Regions from separate parts of the Homo sapiens genome. Here region 2 is linked to region 1. The links are contacts of gene promoters, found by promoter capture Hi-C in blood cells and fetal thymus (Javierre and others, 2016). All regions are on one chromosome and are shown on one strand. Each heading gives the region's core, a stretch centred on a gene start or on the middle of the fragment in contact. The rest is flanking DNA. Distances are from core to core; before and after follow the strand shown.

Region 1 (7,932 bases), core at 265-2,764:
GACATCTCTGCCAAAGTCTTGTGACCTGTAGCTGCCACGTTTTGAAGAGCTTGAGCTGGGTCCCCAGTGGGCTGTCTCTCTGTGGGGAGGGCTTTCTGCTTCACCATCATTAGGAATGTGACCATTCCTATATAATTCCTGGACTGGTGAGATTGGTGGTAGGCCTGTGAAATTTGCCCTAGTTACTACCATTCTCGTTTTGGAGGAAACAATCTCTGCCACCACCAAGTCATTGACTTTGCTCGAGGCACCTTTTTTCCTGTTTCTCCTTTTCTGTTGTCGAGTAAAATTTCATATTTATCTCGTCTGCCTACTACATATACTTGCGTGGGAAGGCTTGTGACCGTCTAGTTGAGTGCTAGTTGTCTATGATGCCCTTTCCTGACATCGTCTACCTTATGAACTTGAAGTCTGGGTATGAGGAAAGGGCTACAGGAATCCTCACTTTGGAGGCAGTGGCTTTAGTCCTTCACATTGCCTGAATGCAGAGCCCCAAAGCCCAGGACAGTGACAATGAGTGGAGTTGGGTCTGAAGGGTGGTCTAGATAGGCCTCTCAGGACAAGGGCAGGTACCTGTTACTTAGAGACAGGCAGGTTTCTCTCAGAGTAACTCTTCACTCCCTTCCTAATTCCAAATTCTAGAAATTCGACTCGTCTTAGTCAAATGTGTCTGTGTGGGTACAGGGTGAAAGGTGAATTGAGTCAGCATATCACCAACAGCTGCCTGTTGACTACTAACAGGGACCCCTGTTATTTGGGGCCCAAGGATTTTCAAGTCCCAGCATATGCAGTTTTCTTGCTAATTTGGGTTCTACTGAATTGGCTGTGTGTTCTGTGGTTGCCCTTTGACTTCTCTGGATTTGAGTGCCTTATTATAAGGTATTAATATTAATGACGGGAGGAAGAAAGGCACAAGCGCTGAGAAACTGCAAAGGCTGTGGGATTGGGGTTACCAGAGGGTGCAGTGACAATGGGGTAGGAGTGGGGTGCTAGTCAGAAAGTTCAGAGTAGGGGTGGTTGGAGGCAGCGTTGAGAAGGAGCAAGAAGTGTCAGGGTGGTGATGGCGTCTTAGAAGATCTCCAGGTTTTGGGAGAAGATGGGTGTATGGGTTACCACAATAGGACTAGACTAATACAAGGGTTCAGTCTATTGTGCCACGTTCTTCCAGGAGGATAAACTCCGGAGCCAATGAACTGGAGCCAAGTGGGAGAGTCCGCCTCTAAGGGATTAAAGGGTCTCCTTTCACTAATCGATCTCGCCCTATTCCTTTCGTTGATTGGCTGAGAATTCCAATCCGTCGAGGAAGCGTAGCGTTGCGGCCAATTGACGTGGCGTTACTAGGCGTGTCGCATCACTGAGGCGGGAGCCAGGCCGCAAGCGAATTTCCTGATTGGCTGTGATCTGCGGGTTGCTGGGGAGAGGCGCGGAGAGGCGGGCGAGAGTCCGCAGGGCAGGCGCTGATTGGCTGAGGTGGGAGCAGCTTCCCTTCCGATGATTCGGCTCTTCTCGGCTCAGTCTCAGCGAAGCGTCTGCGACCGTCGTTTGAGTCGTCGCTGCCGCTGCCGCTGCCACTGCCACTGCCACCTCGCGGATCAGGAGCCAGCGTTGTTCGCCCGACGCCTCGCTGCCGGTGGGAGGAAGCGAGAGGGAAGCCGCTTGCGGGTTTGTCGCCGCTGCTCGCCCACCGCCTGGAAGAGCCGAGCCCCGGCCCAGTCGGTCGCTTGCCACCGCTCGTAGCCGTTACCCGCGGGCCGCCACAGCCGCCGGCCGGGAGAGGCGCGCGCCATGGCTTCTGGAGCCGAGTGAGTGTGCGCGCGCCGTTCGCTTGCTGCGGCGGCGCGCACCGGGACCAGCCGCGCAGGGTAGGCCCGGCGGGGCCTGGCCGTGGGCGCGTCAGAGAGGTGGAGACCAGGAAAGAGGGAAGGGAAGCTAGGGGGCGAGTGAGGGGCCGTGGACCCGGCAGGCCCGGCTGGGGCCAGCTGCGCACCCGCGCGCCCCCTAGGCGGGGCTTGCGTTGGGTCCGGGTCGGAGCCTGGGCCGGATCGTGCTGTGTCATGCAGGCCCCGGCCCGCCCGATTGGCTCCCTTAGAACGGACGTCTGGGCCTGGCCAGGTCTTCCGGCCCACTCCGCCGGCGCGGCGCCCCGGGGCTTTGGGGCGCCAGTCTGCCGTCCGGCCTACCACCCGCCGAAAGCCTTTGGTCCCCGGAGAGAGCAGGCCCCGCGAGCCCGAGGCCCCAGCCGGGCCCGGTGGGCGTGGACTTTGCGCCATGTGAAGGCCTCAGGAGCTCTGCCACCGAGGCGGAGCCCGGGGTCGGGGAAGGCCCGCCGAGCTCAGGGAAGCTCACAGCCGCCTTTTTGGAGCCGGGTCGGCGGGGCCGGAGGTGGGCATCCTCTGTGTGTGACCTGAGTCGTGAAGGACTGTTAGGGAGAGGGCGAGCCCTACCTTTCGCTTCTGGTCTTCTTACTTTAGGCCTGTTGTTCATACTAGAAAGTTTGAGCCAGTTTTCCTTAATGTTATGACTCGTGGGTGGGGAGAAAGGAATTTTTCTTTAACATTTTAGGTTCTTGCTAAAGTTGGAATCTCAGTTCGTGTTTTGTGCGCCTTTCCAGATTTCCAGGTTTCGTGGTGTGCAGTTTAGAGTTGCACTAACTCTTCAAAAACACAAACGTGCGCGCACTCCTTTCCCCAACCAGCTATATTGAGAAATTACCCGGGCTCTGGGGCTTTCTGACCCCACCTCCATCCTTAGGAAAGCGTTAGATAAAACTTGGCTACCTCAGCCCATTCAATTTAGAATAGAGAGCTTTTAGAGGCAAAAAAAAAAAAAAAAAAAAAAAAAAAAACACAGCCAGCCCAAGGAAACTCTATGCAAATTACCTTCCTTCCTTGAAGAGATTAGTTTTTTGAGGTGTGTTCCTTTTTCTCAAGTTTCTGAATTCGGATAAAGTATTACTCAGTTGCTTATTTAAAAGAGTCACTTATTCTGAAAGTATTCTTTTGGTTTATATGCAGTCAGCCTCTTATTTTCAAAAGTAAAAATCTAAAATTCTTGGAACCTGGCATCATCAGCTGTTTCTAACCTCTTGGTCACCTTGATGACTCTTAGCTGAAACCCTTCCAAGTCCCGTGGAGTCCCCTGTGCAGTTCTGGAAAGGGATTGACTTATACAGAAGACAATGGAGGATTGCCCCAAAGAGTGTCCAGAACTGCTGTTGGCCCATGGTCAGGCCAAATTCAGTCTTTTAGAGATTACCACATCTGATCTCAGTAGGTAGATGGGGAATTAGAGGCTTTACCTTAAGAAAAGGGCATACCACTCATCTCCAGAGCCAGAGTCCGGGATGGTAGGCAGAATGGAGGTTTTCCTAGGATACAGCTTTGAGATTAAAATACAAACTATTGACCGGGCACAGTGGCTCAGGCCTGTAATCCCAGCATTTTGGGAGGCCGAGGCAGGCAGATCACTTGAGGTCAGGAGTTTGAGACCAGCCCGGGCAACATGGAGAAACCCCATCTCTATTAAAATGCAAAAAGTAGCCAGGCATGGTGATGGTGCACACCTGTAGTCCCAGCCACTCTGGAGGCTGAGACAGGAGAATCACTTGAACCCAGGGAGGCAGAGATTGCAGTGAGGGAGATCGCGCCACTGCACTCCAGCCTGGGCAACAGAGGGAGACTCCGTTTCAAAAAATAAAAAACTATGGTGACTAGAGGCATCTGGCGTTTTATTTTTCTCCAGTCCCAGTTCTATAAGTCAAGCAAGAAGATGGGCAGTCCCTGGAAGAGTATTTTGATGGGACAGGAGTGGGAGAGCTCGTGGGTTTACATTGCTCTCAACTGTCACATTGAGCATGCTTGGCCTCTAGTGTGTTGATAAGCATTGGAAGAGTCTGCCTACTCAGCAGCATTGTGCCTGGAGTGGCAGACTTTTGGAATGGGGGAAGCAAATTTGAGCAGAGGAAACTGTCGTTAGAAACTAGTTTAGAGGCAGTGGTTAAAAATGCAGCCTATGTGTGAGGGTTAGCAGAAGGCCTACCATTTTGTTAGATGAATGGGGTTTGTTTTTCTCTTGGGTGTATCAGGACCCAAAGATGTAAGAACCCCATGGCTTCCTAGCTGAGCACAGCATTTTTCTTTGTCTCTTGCAAATTGTGAGGATATTTCCAATGGGAATACTATTTTGTCTTGTTTTGTTGACTTCAGTATCCCCAGCCCTTAGAACAATGCCTGGTACATAATAGAGACTCATGAATTTGTTGAATGAAGAAATTCGTTTTAAAAATTTATTTTCTTTGCTTCCTTCATTGTCTGGCCTTCCTACTTTGGTTAATGCTTATGTTTTCCTGAGCCTTACTAACACGAGGCCGCTCTTAAAAAAGAGAGAGCGCTGGGTGCTGTGGCTCACGCCTGTAATCCCAGTACTTTGGGAGGCCGAGGTGGGCAGATCACCTGAGGTCAGGAGTTCGAGACCAGCCTGACCACCATGGTGAAACCCCATCTCTAGTAAAAATGCAAAATTAGCCAGGTGTGGTGGCGCATGCCTGTAATCCCAGCTACTCGGGAGGCTGAGGCAGGAGAATCACTTGAACCCGGGAGGTGGAGGTTGCAGTTAGCTGAGATCGCAGCATTGCATTCCAGCCTGGACAACAAAAGCGAAACTCCATCTCAAAAAAAAAAAAAAAAAAAAAAAAAGGGAGAGGGAGCTTGCTGAGTCTAGTAAGTGACAGCTGGAAACGGGCTAGGTAATAAGTTGGTGTCACTGTCTGGTGAATGATCCTAGCTTCTAGGAAATAACACTGAGTGTAGACCCAGTCGACTTTGATTTGGGTGAGAGGGATTTGGATTTGCCCCATGTCTCAGCATTTCTTGGTTTTGATTTTTTGAGCCAACTTTATGGAATTGTGTACTTTTGCAGATATTACTGTGAAGTTCCTTTTGACCTTGAGCCTCTTTCTGGCGGTTTGATGTCTGTTAGTGTTTTTTCCAAATATGATGGTCTTTATGCTTGGCATTCCTTTGGTACTATGGAATGCCCTGGCATCAGTAGGTTTAGCCTATAAGGAGGGTAGCACCAATGATTCTGCTTCGTTGTCCCCAGGCTTGCTTGGTAGAACTTAAGGCCTCCCTGAGCCTCAAGGGAGGTTGTCTGGCTTACTTAATTCCCTGGAAAGTTAGCTTATGCTTTACTCTATACTGTTAATCATGGTGACCATTAATACCATGTGCCAGGTATTATGTTAAGCATTTTACATTCATTATCTCCCTTAAGACAATAAGCCTCTGAGATAAGTATTATATTCCTTCTTTTATAGAGGAGGACATCAAAGTTCAGAGGTTAGGTAACTTGCCCAAGATCACAATTAAGCAGTGGCATAATTGGAATTCAGACCCAATGGGTCTGACTATAGAGTTCCTGCTCTTAACCACTCTTCTGTAAGTCTAAGACTATTTTTATTTCTCTAACAACTATTCAGCCTCCATTTCTATTATGTCTTCTTCTTAGGCCATTATTTTCTGACCCTGGGGCAGGATCACTCACTTGGGGCCTTATAGCTGGGACACTGACGCTCAAAATACCAGGAGCTGCTGGAATGGGTATTGTAATATGTATGGTAGATACTGCTCCTCGTGACCTTGGCTGCCTTTCCTTCATCTGAGCTTTCTGGTCTAGGGACAGCTTCATCTATTCACTGTTTCTTTCCTAAGTATGAGTTTTAGAGACTGGCGAGGCGCTTGGGGCAGGAGTATCTACTGACTCCATTTCCTCCTTCTAGTTCAAAAGGTGATGACCTATCAACAGCCATTCTCAAACAGAAGAACCGTCCCAATCGGTTAATTGTTGATGAAGCCATCAATGAGGACAACAGTGTGGTGTCCTTGTCCCAGGTAAGCTGTGGCCACAGACTAGTCTTTCCTTACTGCACTTACTTGAGGGATTTTCCCAGGTTTCTTTTCTCATTTTTCTTGCAGTGACTGCAGATAGAGTGGGGTTTACTGGGAATCCCAATCTCCAGGGCTGCTGCTTACTCCCCGTCAGCCCAATGACCCAAAGGCCTTAACTTTCTTTCCTCAGCCCAAGATGGATGAATTGCAGTTGTTCCGAGGTGACACAGTGTTGCTGAAAGGAAAGAAGAGACGAGAAGCTGTTTGCATCGTCCTTTCTGATGATACTTGTTCTGATGAGAAGATTCGGATGAATAGAGTTGTTCGGAATAACCTTCGTGTACGCCTAGGGGATGTCATCAGGTGTGTGTGGGGTTTTTGGCTTCACAGGGATGGGAGGCCAGAGATAGCCTGCATTACAGGCAGGACCCATGTATTACAGGCAGGACCAAGTTCTTGGCACCTGTCGATGCAGGAAGCCTCCTGGTCATGGGAAGACTTATGCTTCAGGGTTGTCTTTAGGTTTTGGTTCTGCCTCCCTGGGACTTCAAAATCCATTTCTGCAGGTCCCTTGAGACAAATTGGCGTTCCTGTAACTTTCTTGATGGCTTTATTTTTTCCTACTAGAGGTGTAATTTATCATACTTATATCCTGGCTTAGGATACCACTCGAGGGTGTGTATGTATATGCCAAATAATCTCCTCACTACTCTCACTAGTATGTCTAATTGATGGCTTGTGTTGGGGTTGGAATGAGGTGGGGGTATGGGCATGGAAGGTGAGCTGCTAGCAGGTCTTTTAAGCCCCTAAGTTAACCCGGGAGAGAGGAATAGTTGGAGCCAGACCTGGGATAGCTCTCAATGTGAGTGATTTTGCTTGTTCTTGCATAATTTTAGGCAAGAGGTTACCCCATCTTGGAGTCATCTCTAGCCACTCCTACCCAACCAACCATCACCTGGCCAGGATCATCTCAGGCTTTTGATTCTTTTGAATGGAGTCTAAGTTTCATGTAGCTTTCTTCTTGGGAGTGCTTAGTCACTTCCTCAAGGTGTTCTGACCACCTGGCTGAGATAATTTTGTTTTTTTCACTTCTGTTTCACTGACCCTGACAATTGTTAGCTTAAGACCTTCCCTTGTAATATTGGGTCACCAGTATTAGCTAGAAGGGGATCATCCTTGGATATCTCCCTGAAGACCCTGCATGTCTTTGTGGGGTTTCTAAATGTGTGGCTCTTGATTTTGGCTCACTGATTAGGAGTGAGTGGGGCTGTTCCTTCGCCCTCACTTCCACCCTGTTCTCCTTCCTCTCTTCGCCTAAAGCCATCCTGCCTTTTCTTTTTCACTTACTATCAGCTATCTGTGCCAGGCCCTTTTGGACACCCAGTGCTTGGGCCCGAAGTGTGGTTGGTAATATGGAGTCTGCTTGTCATCCTCAGCATCCAGCCATGCCCTGATGTGAAGTACGGCAAACGTATCCATGTGCTGCCCATTGATGACACAGTGGAAGGCATTACTGGTAATCTCTTCGAGGTATACCTTAAGCCGTACTTCCTGGAAGCGTATCGACCCATCCGGAAAGGTGAGAGCTAATTCTGAGCTTAAGGATTATTGACTGTAGGGAATAAACCTTGGAACATCTTTATCTCATTTTCTTTTTCTTTTTTTTTTTTTAAATCTTTTATGCTTTTCCCCTGTATTTATTTATTCATTTTTTAAGAGATGGGGTCAGCTGGGCACCGTGGCTCACACCTATAATCCCAGCAATTTGGGAGGCTGAGGCGGGTGGATCACTTGAGGCCAGGAGTTTGAGACCAGCCTGGCCAACATGGCGAAACCCCATCGTGGGCACCTGTAATCCCAGCTACCTGGGAGGCTGAGGCATGAGAATTGCTTGAACCCAAGAGGTGGAGGTTGCAGTGAGCCAAGATTGGGCCACAGTACTGCAGCCTGGGTGACAGAGCAAGACTCTGTCTCAAAAAAAAAAAAAAAGAGACAGGGTCTCACTATGATGCCCAGGCTGGTCTCAAACTGCTGGGCTCAAGTGATC
Region 2 (7,932 bases), core at 2,242-4,741, 650 kb before region 1:
TCCCTCTCTTGGGGTAAGTATACTGAGTATTACTCCAGAAAAAAAGGAGGTTAGAGTAGATGGAGAATCTTCCTCTGGGAGAGTGTGAGGCTTAAATGAAACGGATGATGGACTTATTCTTTAAAATCAGCAGAACAAAAATCTCATCAGCAAGCTGAGATCACAGGAATTCTTGTAGGTGTGGTGAAAGGAAAAATGTGATAACCTCCCTGTTTCAGCAGCAGCTATATACAGTGAATTTTTGACTTTATATTATAGGGTTATGAATTGAAAACTGATATCAACTTGATAAAGTACCCTAATGACACAAATACAAATTATAGGAAATGCTGTTTTTTCCCTTTTGGATACTACAGCCAACCTTAAAGTGTGGCCATTTTATGCCAAATATTATATCCTCTCAATTTTATCATCAGAGTAAAAATAAGAGACTTCCTAAATGATATGTATTTGAAACTGTGTAGTGTAGAGGCCACTCCTCAGAAGTAAAAAATTTCCCTCCAAGGAGAAAATAAAGAGGAGGTTCAAGAAAGGTGGGCATCTTCCAAGAGGGCCGTTGCCACGGGAAGGCATCTCATCAGCTCAACCTTGGGCCTCCCATCCTAGCCATTTCCATCCTGGATAGATTTGAGCTTTCCCTCTGAGTCCCCCACTTGTCACCCTAGGATTTTGGAGATTACCAAGATGGCTATTACTCAGTACAGACAACTGAAGGGGAGCAGATTGCACAGCTCATTGCCGGCTACATCGATATCATCCTGAAGAAGGTGAGCACTGCCTGCCCTAGCCTTCTCCTTATCGCCTCTTGCCCTCTCCACAAGCCAGTCCTTTAGAAATGGGCACTCAGATTGCTTGAACCTGGGAGGCGGAGGTTGCAATGAGCCGAGATCTTGCCTCTGCACTCCAGCCTGGGTGACAGAGCCCTTTCTTGTCAAAAAAAAAAAAAAAAGAAAAAGAAATGGACACTCAGCTTCTGGAAAATGGCTGGTTATGGAAAGAAGAGGCTGCCTTTTCTCCACTTCCCTCTTCTTTAACTATCCCAACTCTTGTTCCTTTTTCCTTCCTACAGAAAAAAAGCAAGGATCACTTTGGGCTGGAAGGAGATGAGGAGTCTACTATGCTGGAGGACTCAGTGTCCCCCAAAAAGTACGAAGGGAGTTGGGCTGATCCCATTTCCCAGGGGTAGAGAAGGCAAGGCCTGACTCTAAGGACTCTTGGGAGGTGGGGAGTCCTTAGAATGGTTCTTTAACTAGTTGCAGGCTGTAGTGAGACCTCACACACCTGCAAAGGTAGTGTAACCGGGTGGGACGGGTAGAGATGAGGAGTCCTCTGTGAGCTCAATAGTTCACCCCTCTACAGGTCAACAGTCCTGCAGCAGCAATACAACCGGGTGGGGAAAGTGGAGCATGGCTCTGTGGCCCTGCCTGCCATCATGCGCTCTGGAGCCTCTGGTCCTGAGAATTTCCAGGTGGGCAGCATGCCCCCTGCCCAGCAGCAGATTACCAGCGGCCAGATGCACCGAGGACACATGCCTCCTCTGGTAAGTGTCCCACTTCCACCACGGTGCCAGGGCCCTTCTCTCACCCTCAGCTGGGCCGAGCCAGGAGTTAGGCAGTCTTTTCCCAGGTCCCTATTTGTATTCTCTCCCTAGACCCTGGTTCTCTTTTACCTTCTCTTTTCTCCAAACATCCATTCCAGTCCCTGTTTCTCCCCACTTGTCTTTAGACTTCAGCCCAGCAGGCACTCACTGGAACCATTAACTCCAGCATGCAGGCCGTGCAGGCTGCCCAGGCCACCCTGGATGACTTTGACACTCTGCCGCCTCTTGGCCAGGATGCTGTAAGTATGGGATGGAGGAGAGGCCGGTGGTACTGAAGCTGAGACTCCAAGGGATAGGGATGAGGTGAACCAAACCAGGGCAGATCCTGAAGGCTTTTCCTCTCTCTTTCAGGCCTCTAAGGCCTGGCGTAAAAACAAGATGGATGAATCAAAGCATGAGATCCACTCTCAGGTAGATGCCATCACAGCTGGTACTGCGTCTGTGGTGAACCTGACAGCAGGTAGGCCGGATGCTAGCTTCCGGGTGTGTGATGGGGAGAGGGGGTGCAAGTGTGCACAGGCATGCATGTGACTGGCTTCATGTGTGACTGTGCCTTGACTCACTGTGGAAGGGACTGTGTGTGTGCGTCTTTCTGTGGACATGTGTGTGACTAACTGGGTGTGACTTTGCTCCCTCCCCAGCCCTTCGTCTGGCCTGCCCTGTCTCTCATGTTCCTCTTTCTCCTTTTCCCCTTAGGGGACCCTGCTGAGACAGACTATACCGCAGTGGGCTGTGCAGTCACCACAATCTCCTCCAACCTGACGGAGATGTCCCGTGGGGTGAAGCTGCTGGCTGCCTTGCTGGAGGACGAAGGCGGCAGTGGTCGGCCCCTGTTGCAGGCAGCAAAGGGCCTTGCGGGAGCAGTGTCAGAACTGCTGCGCAGTGCCCAACCAGCCAGTGCTGAGGTCAGGGGCCACAGGTTTGGGTTAGGGTGGAGACAGGGTTCAAGCCCAAGGAGAAGGGGCAGTCCAAGCCACAGGATGGAAGCCTGGGTCCCGTGGGCCTGTGATATGCACAGGCATGTGGGCAGGGATTGGGCAGCTTCTGACTGGTGTTCACTCTCCACAGCCCCGTCAGAACCTGCTGCAAGCAGCTGGGAACGTGGGCCAGGCCAGTGGGGAGCTGTTGCAACAAATTGGGGAAAGTGATACTGACCCCCACTTCCAGGTTGGTGACTTACCCAACCCCCCAGAACCCCAGAATCTAGGAAGTAACTTCTGCTCGTGAATCCAGTTCCTAGTCCTGGCTTCTGTGAATTGACCCCTAAAAACCAATCTGAACCTCTATTTCCAGGGGATGATACTAGTAACTTCTGATCTCTCTTTTAGGGGTTAGAATTCAGAACCCCTGAATCCAAACTTAACCTGCTAGTTTACTCTTGGCCCTCATTTATTCTTTAGCCCCTTGTCATCTTTTCTCTCTCTTCCCCGTACATAGCCCTTGCCCCAATTTGAGGACCCCCCACAATGCTATAGACCATGCCACCCTGAGAATAGTGTTCCTCTAGCTCTCCCCCTTCCCGCTCCATGCCAATTTCCTCAGCTGACTTTTCACCCTGGATTTCCCATGCAGATATGTGCATCCAGAGGGGCTGGGGTTCGATCTCCCCCCGATTCCCCTACGGTAACAGCCTCTGGCCTGGGCCTTCCCAGCTTTGTCCTCTCTGAGCCGCATACACTCGTTTCTGTACTTCTTCCTCAGCCTCCTGGGGGACCAGAACTTGGTGGGAGATGAGGAGGCCTGGCGAAGCCAGGCTTTGGGAAATGGGATCAGGTAGGGTAGTACAGGGACTTGCTCCCAAGACTCCAGGATGACCACTTCCAATCCAAGATCAAGAAGTGGAGTAAAGAAGCTGGGGGTGGAGGGATCCCAGGAGATACCTCCTACCTCCTCTCCCCACCCCATTGTAACAGCGCCACCACATTGTCTCCCCGTCATCATCGAGTGTATCCGCCTCATGTGTGTCTCCATTTGGTGTAGGCTGTATTTTCTCTTGGTGTGGGTTTGTTCCTCGGTGGGGGTTCTGTCCTGCTGGGTGCTCAGGGCAGTAGCTCGGGGTAGGTTCTGGTTGCTTCTGCGTACACTCTCCTTTGATTGGATCAGTGGGAATAATGAAGCAGCTTACGCCTCTGAGAAGTGTCTGTGAATCCCAAGCCCAATCTCAGGTCATGCTAACTGCTGTTTTCTCACAGGATGCGCTAATGCAGCTCGCCAAAGCTGTGGCAAGTGCTGCAGCTGCCCTGGTCCTCAAGGCCAAGAGTGTGGCCCAGCGGACAGAGGACTCGGGACTTCAGACCCAAGTTATTGCTGCAGCAACACAGTGTGCCCTATCCACTTCCCAACTAGTGGCCTGTACTAAGGTGAGCCCCAAAGGTTGCTCTAGTCCGTGCTGAGGGGTAATACTACCACACACACGTGAGCCTTTCATTTTATTTCTTTGGCTCTGGAGGCCTCCTCACCCATCCCAGTTACTGCTATGAGCAGCATACTCTACCTCCTTTCCCTTGCCTACGTCTCTGACATTCACTTTACCTACAGGTGGTGGCACCTACAATCAGCTCACCTGTCTGCCAAGAGCAACTGGTGGAGGCTGGACGACTGGTAGCCAAAGCCGTGGAGGGCTGTGTGTCTGCCTCCCAGGCAGCTACAGAGGATGGGCAACTGTTGCGAGGGGTAGGAGCAGCAGCCACAGCTGTCACCCAGGCCCTAAATGAGCTGCTGCAGCATGTGAAAGCCCATGCCACAGGGGCTGGGCCTGCTGGCCGTTATGACCAGGCTACTGACACCATCCTAACCGTCACTGAGAACATCTTTAGCTCCATGGGTGATGCTGGTAAGACACGCACCCCCAGGAAAACAAAAAACCCTACCAGGGTTCCCTAAGCCCACTGGACATCATCCCCTTGCGGACCTAACCACTTCACCCCAAGGAACTCAGCACAGTGTGGGCTTGCCAGCCACACAACCATAGGCTCATCATTAAAGCTCTCTGAACCCTCTGCTTCCCCTTCTGTAAAAGGAATATTAAGTCCTCTACCTTCCCTGGAGCATTTAAAGAATATACCAAAGTACGCACAAAAATATATAGAAAGTGACATGAAAGTGGTATAGCCTTCCCTACTATACCCCTGACCCCAAAAGTTTTCAGAGAGTGTCTCATCTTCTCAAGGCTACTGGCTGAAAATACCCATTGGAGACTGTCCTTCTCCCGTAAGAACCCACTGGAGAATCTTTTTCTCCAAGATCCTAAACCCAGAAAAAAAATAGCCCCAAAGAAATGATGCAAGAGCTTTTGCCAGTCTCTTTTTCTGTCCCTAAAGCCCCCATCTACCTTGTCTACACCACTTTTCCCCACCTTTGTCCCCACCCCTGACACCTCAGTGTCTCTGGCTTCCTCGCCTGACTGTGCCCTATGCTCTCAGGGGAGATGGTGCGACAGGCCCGCATCCTGGCCCAAGCCACATCTGACCTGGTCAATGCCATCAAGGCTGATGCTGAGGGGGAAAGTGATCTGGAGAACTCCCGCAAGCTCTTAAGTGCTGCCAAGATCCTAGCTGATGCCACAGCCAAGATGGTAGAGGCTGCCAAGGTACAAAGCCTTCTGTGCACACTCCCAGACTGGACCCTAGAGGGAAGTAGAGCAGTCCAGATGGTCACCCTCATCTGATGAGGGAGACCCAGGAAAAGCAGAAAACACAAGAGGACAAATATAGGAGCACTCAGGAAATGAATGAGCCCCAAGGCTGTGGGTGAGCCATGACCCAGGCTTTTTTTTTTTTTTTTTTTTTAAAGATGTGGTCTCACTGTGTTGCCCAGGCTGGTCTCAAACTCTTGGACTCAAGTGATCCTCCCACCTTGGCCTCCCGAAGTGTTAGGATTGCAGGCATGAGCCACCACACCTGGCCTAAAATTATTTTTTAATTGACATAATTTTACATATTCATGAGGTACATAGTGACATTTCAATACATGTATAGTAATCAGATCAGAGTAATTAACATATCCATCATTTATCCAAATATTTATCATTTCTTTGTGTTGGGAACATTCAGTATCCTCCCCCTAGCTATTTGGAACTATATAATAGTCTTAACTTTAGTCATCCTACAGTGGTGTAGAACGCTAGAACTTACTCCTATCTAGCTATAATTTTGTGTCCTTTAATAAATCTCTCCCATTCCTCTGTAGTAGGCAACCAGATCCTTTTTCTTTAAGTCCAAGGTCTTAAGTCCAAGGCCTATTTTTACCTTCTTTGCTGCTACCCTGCCTGGGATTCCTTTCCTTCCTGGTCTCCCCTGTGAATACACATAGGCATTCAGTCTCTGGGGCCTCTGCTGCCAGCAGGACACTGAGACACCAGCATGCAGAGAACCATCAGAAAGAAGCCCAGATGATTCCTAGGCCCCCTGGACTCTGGGGCTTTTCAGTTGGCAGGAGTAAGCAGGTCCCCTGCTTTGGTATTCCTGAGATGCCTGCTCTAAACTGAGTCCTCCTTTGTCCAGGAAGCCCTACTCACCTCACTCGTGTGGTATTCCCCAAGGAGGGGAAGACAAAACAATTCCACCTTAAGAAAGGATTTCAGCATCCAGTGGGAATCCTAGCCCCCTGAGGTTTCCCATTGACCTTCATGAGTCAGCTCCTCTCAAAGGTGATTGCCTTTTGGTGGGGCTAGTTAGAGATGACTTCAGGAAAATACATGAATTTTAAACTGAGTCTAGAGGAGTGAGAGAGGAGCTTCTTTAGGATCCACAGGAGAGCTGGGTGATGACTGTCTTTCCACCTCTCCCTCAGGGAGCAGCTGCCCACCCTGACAGTGAGGAGCAGCAGCAGCGGCTGCGGGAGGCAGCTGAGGGGCTGCGCATGGCCACCAATGCAGCTGCGCAGAATGCCATCAAGAAAAAGCTGGTGCAGCGCCTGGAGGTGAGGCTGGGAGTTTCACCAGGAGCAAGAGAGAGTGTGGGTGCTGTGGGAGGAATGAACTGAAAGGGAGGTGCGGAGAGTAAGTTAATACGTCCTTGAGGCATAACCTGGGCAAGGTAGGCCAGGGACTGGGCTGGGCATGGGAATCCATGGGCTTGGTCTGACTACTCTTGTCTTCACAGCATGCAGCCAAGCAGGCTGCAGCCTCAGCCACACAGACCATCGCTGCAGCTCAGCACGCAGCCTCTACCCCCAAGGCCTCTGCCGGCCCCCAGCCCCTGCTGGTGCAGAGCTGCAAGGTAAGACTCTAGGAAGGATGTGGGAGTGGAAGAGGGAGACTTGTGGGTCTCTTATGACATTTTCACCTACAGGCAGTGGCAGAGCAGATTCCACTGCTGGTGCAGGGCGTCCGAGGAAGCCAAGCCCAGCCTGACAGCCCCAGCGCTCAGCTTGCCCTCATTGCTGCCAGCCAGAGCTTCCTGCAGGCAAGGCACCCCCTCTGCACTTCTCTGACCTGACCTTCCCACCTTTCTAAGCTTCCATCTCCCACAGTTTGAATCTCTGCCAAGAGCCTCTTTCCCAATACCAAGCCCCAGTGTTCCCTACATCCTGACCATCATCAGTCCTTGTACCCAAGCCCAGAGGGAGGATGGCACACTTCATCCACCTGCCTATTCCCCAACAGCCAGGTGGGAAGATGGTGGCAGCTGCAAAGGCCTCAGTGCCAACGATTCAGGACCAGGCTTCAGCCATGCAGCTGAGTCAGTGTGCCAAGAACCTGGGCACCGCGCTGGCTGAACTCCGGACGGCTGCCCAGAAGGTATGGAAGCTGGTTCTGGCTTTGGAAGATGAGGCTGGAGTCCTGTGATGAGAGGAAATCTGTGCAGAATAACCCAATACGCAGATAATTGTGTAATCAGAGGCATTGGTGAGACACAGCAGGACCTTCTACACCCAAAACCCCTTTCTTATCATAGGCTCAGGAAGCATGTGGACCTTTGGAGATGGATTCTGCACTGAGTGTGGTACAGAATCTAGAGAAAGATCTACAGGAAGTGAAGGCAGCAGCTCGAGATGGCAAGCTTAAACCCTTACCTGGGGAGACAGTAAGTATGTTTAAGACCTCATTCTTACTCAAATCCTAAAGTCTTCCTTCACCTCCGTGCCCCAGAGCTGCTCAAAACCTTTCCTTCCTTCCTTTTTCTTTTTTCTCTTTCTCTCTTTTATTTTTCTTTTCTTTCTTCTTCCTTCCTTTTTTCTTTCTCTTTCTCTCTCCTTCCTTCTTTCTTCCTTCCTTTCTTTTCTTCCTTTCCTCTCCTCTTTCTTTTCTTTTCTCTTTTCTTTTCTTTTCCGTTCTTTTATTTCTTTTTCTTTCTTGATGGAGTCTCGCTCTGTCACCTAAACTGTAGTGC

The links. The method cuts DNA at HindIII sites, captures the fragments that hold promoters and counts their contacts. A CHiCAGO score of 5 or more calls a contact.
Region 2: a fragment that was not itself captured here is called in contact with the fragment with the promoter of VCP in region 1 in 1 of 17 cell types (neutrophils); the score reaches 5.4 in neutrophils.

The regions. Positions count from the first base shown.
Region 1 is chr9:35,066,207-35,074,138 of GRCh38, reverse strand. It overlaps VCP (valosin containing protein), which reads left to right and starts at 1,514. Exons shown (of 17, transcript NM_007126.5): 1 at 1,514-1,802; 2 at 5,777-5,888; 3 at 6,076-6,248; 4 at 7,322-7,464. The coding sequence starts at 1,786. FANCG (FA complementation group G) reads left to right here. Exons shown (of 14, transcript NM_004629.2): 14 at 1-300. The coding sequence ends at 31. RefSeq lists enhancers at 947-996, 1,017-1,156, 1,357-1,406 and a silencer at 1,807-2,436. The HindIII fragment of the contact is 17,727 bases long and covers 1-7,932 here.
Region 2 is chr9:35,713,647-35,721,578 of GRCh38, reverse strand. It overlaps TLN1 (talin 1), which reads left to right. Exons shown (of 57, transcript NM_006289.4): 11 at 666-767; 12 at 1,070-1,146; 13 at 1,360-1,540; 14 at 1,726-1,839; 15 at 1,952-2,060; 16 at 2,297-2,505; 17 at 2,669-2,767; 18 at 3,793-3,960; 19 at 4,139-4,433; 20 at 5,023-5,189; 21 at 6,392-6,520; 22 at 6,703-6,819; 23 at 6,892-7,005; 24 at 7,206-7,340; 1 more. Among named protein-coding and RNA genes, the nearest start is that of MIR6852, 6.9 kb to the right of the region's middle. RefSeq lists an enhancer at 5,968-6,872. The HindIII fragment of the contact is 7,135 bases long and covers 1-7,058 here.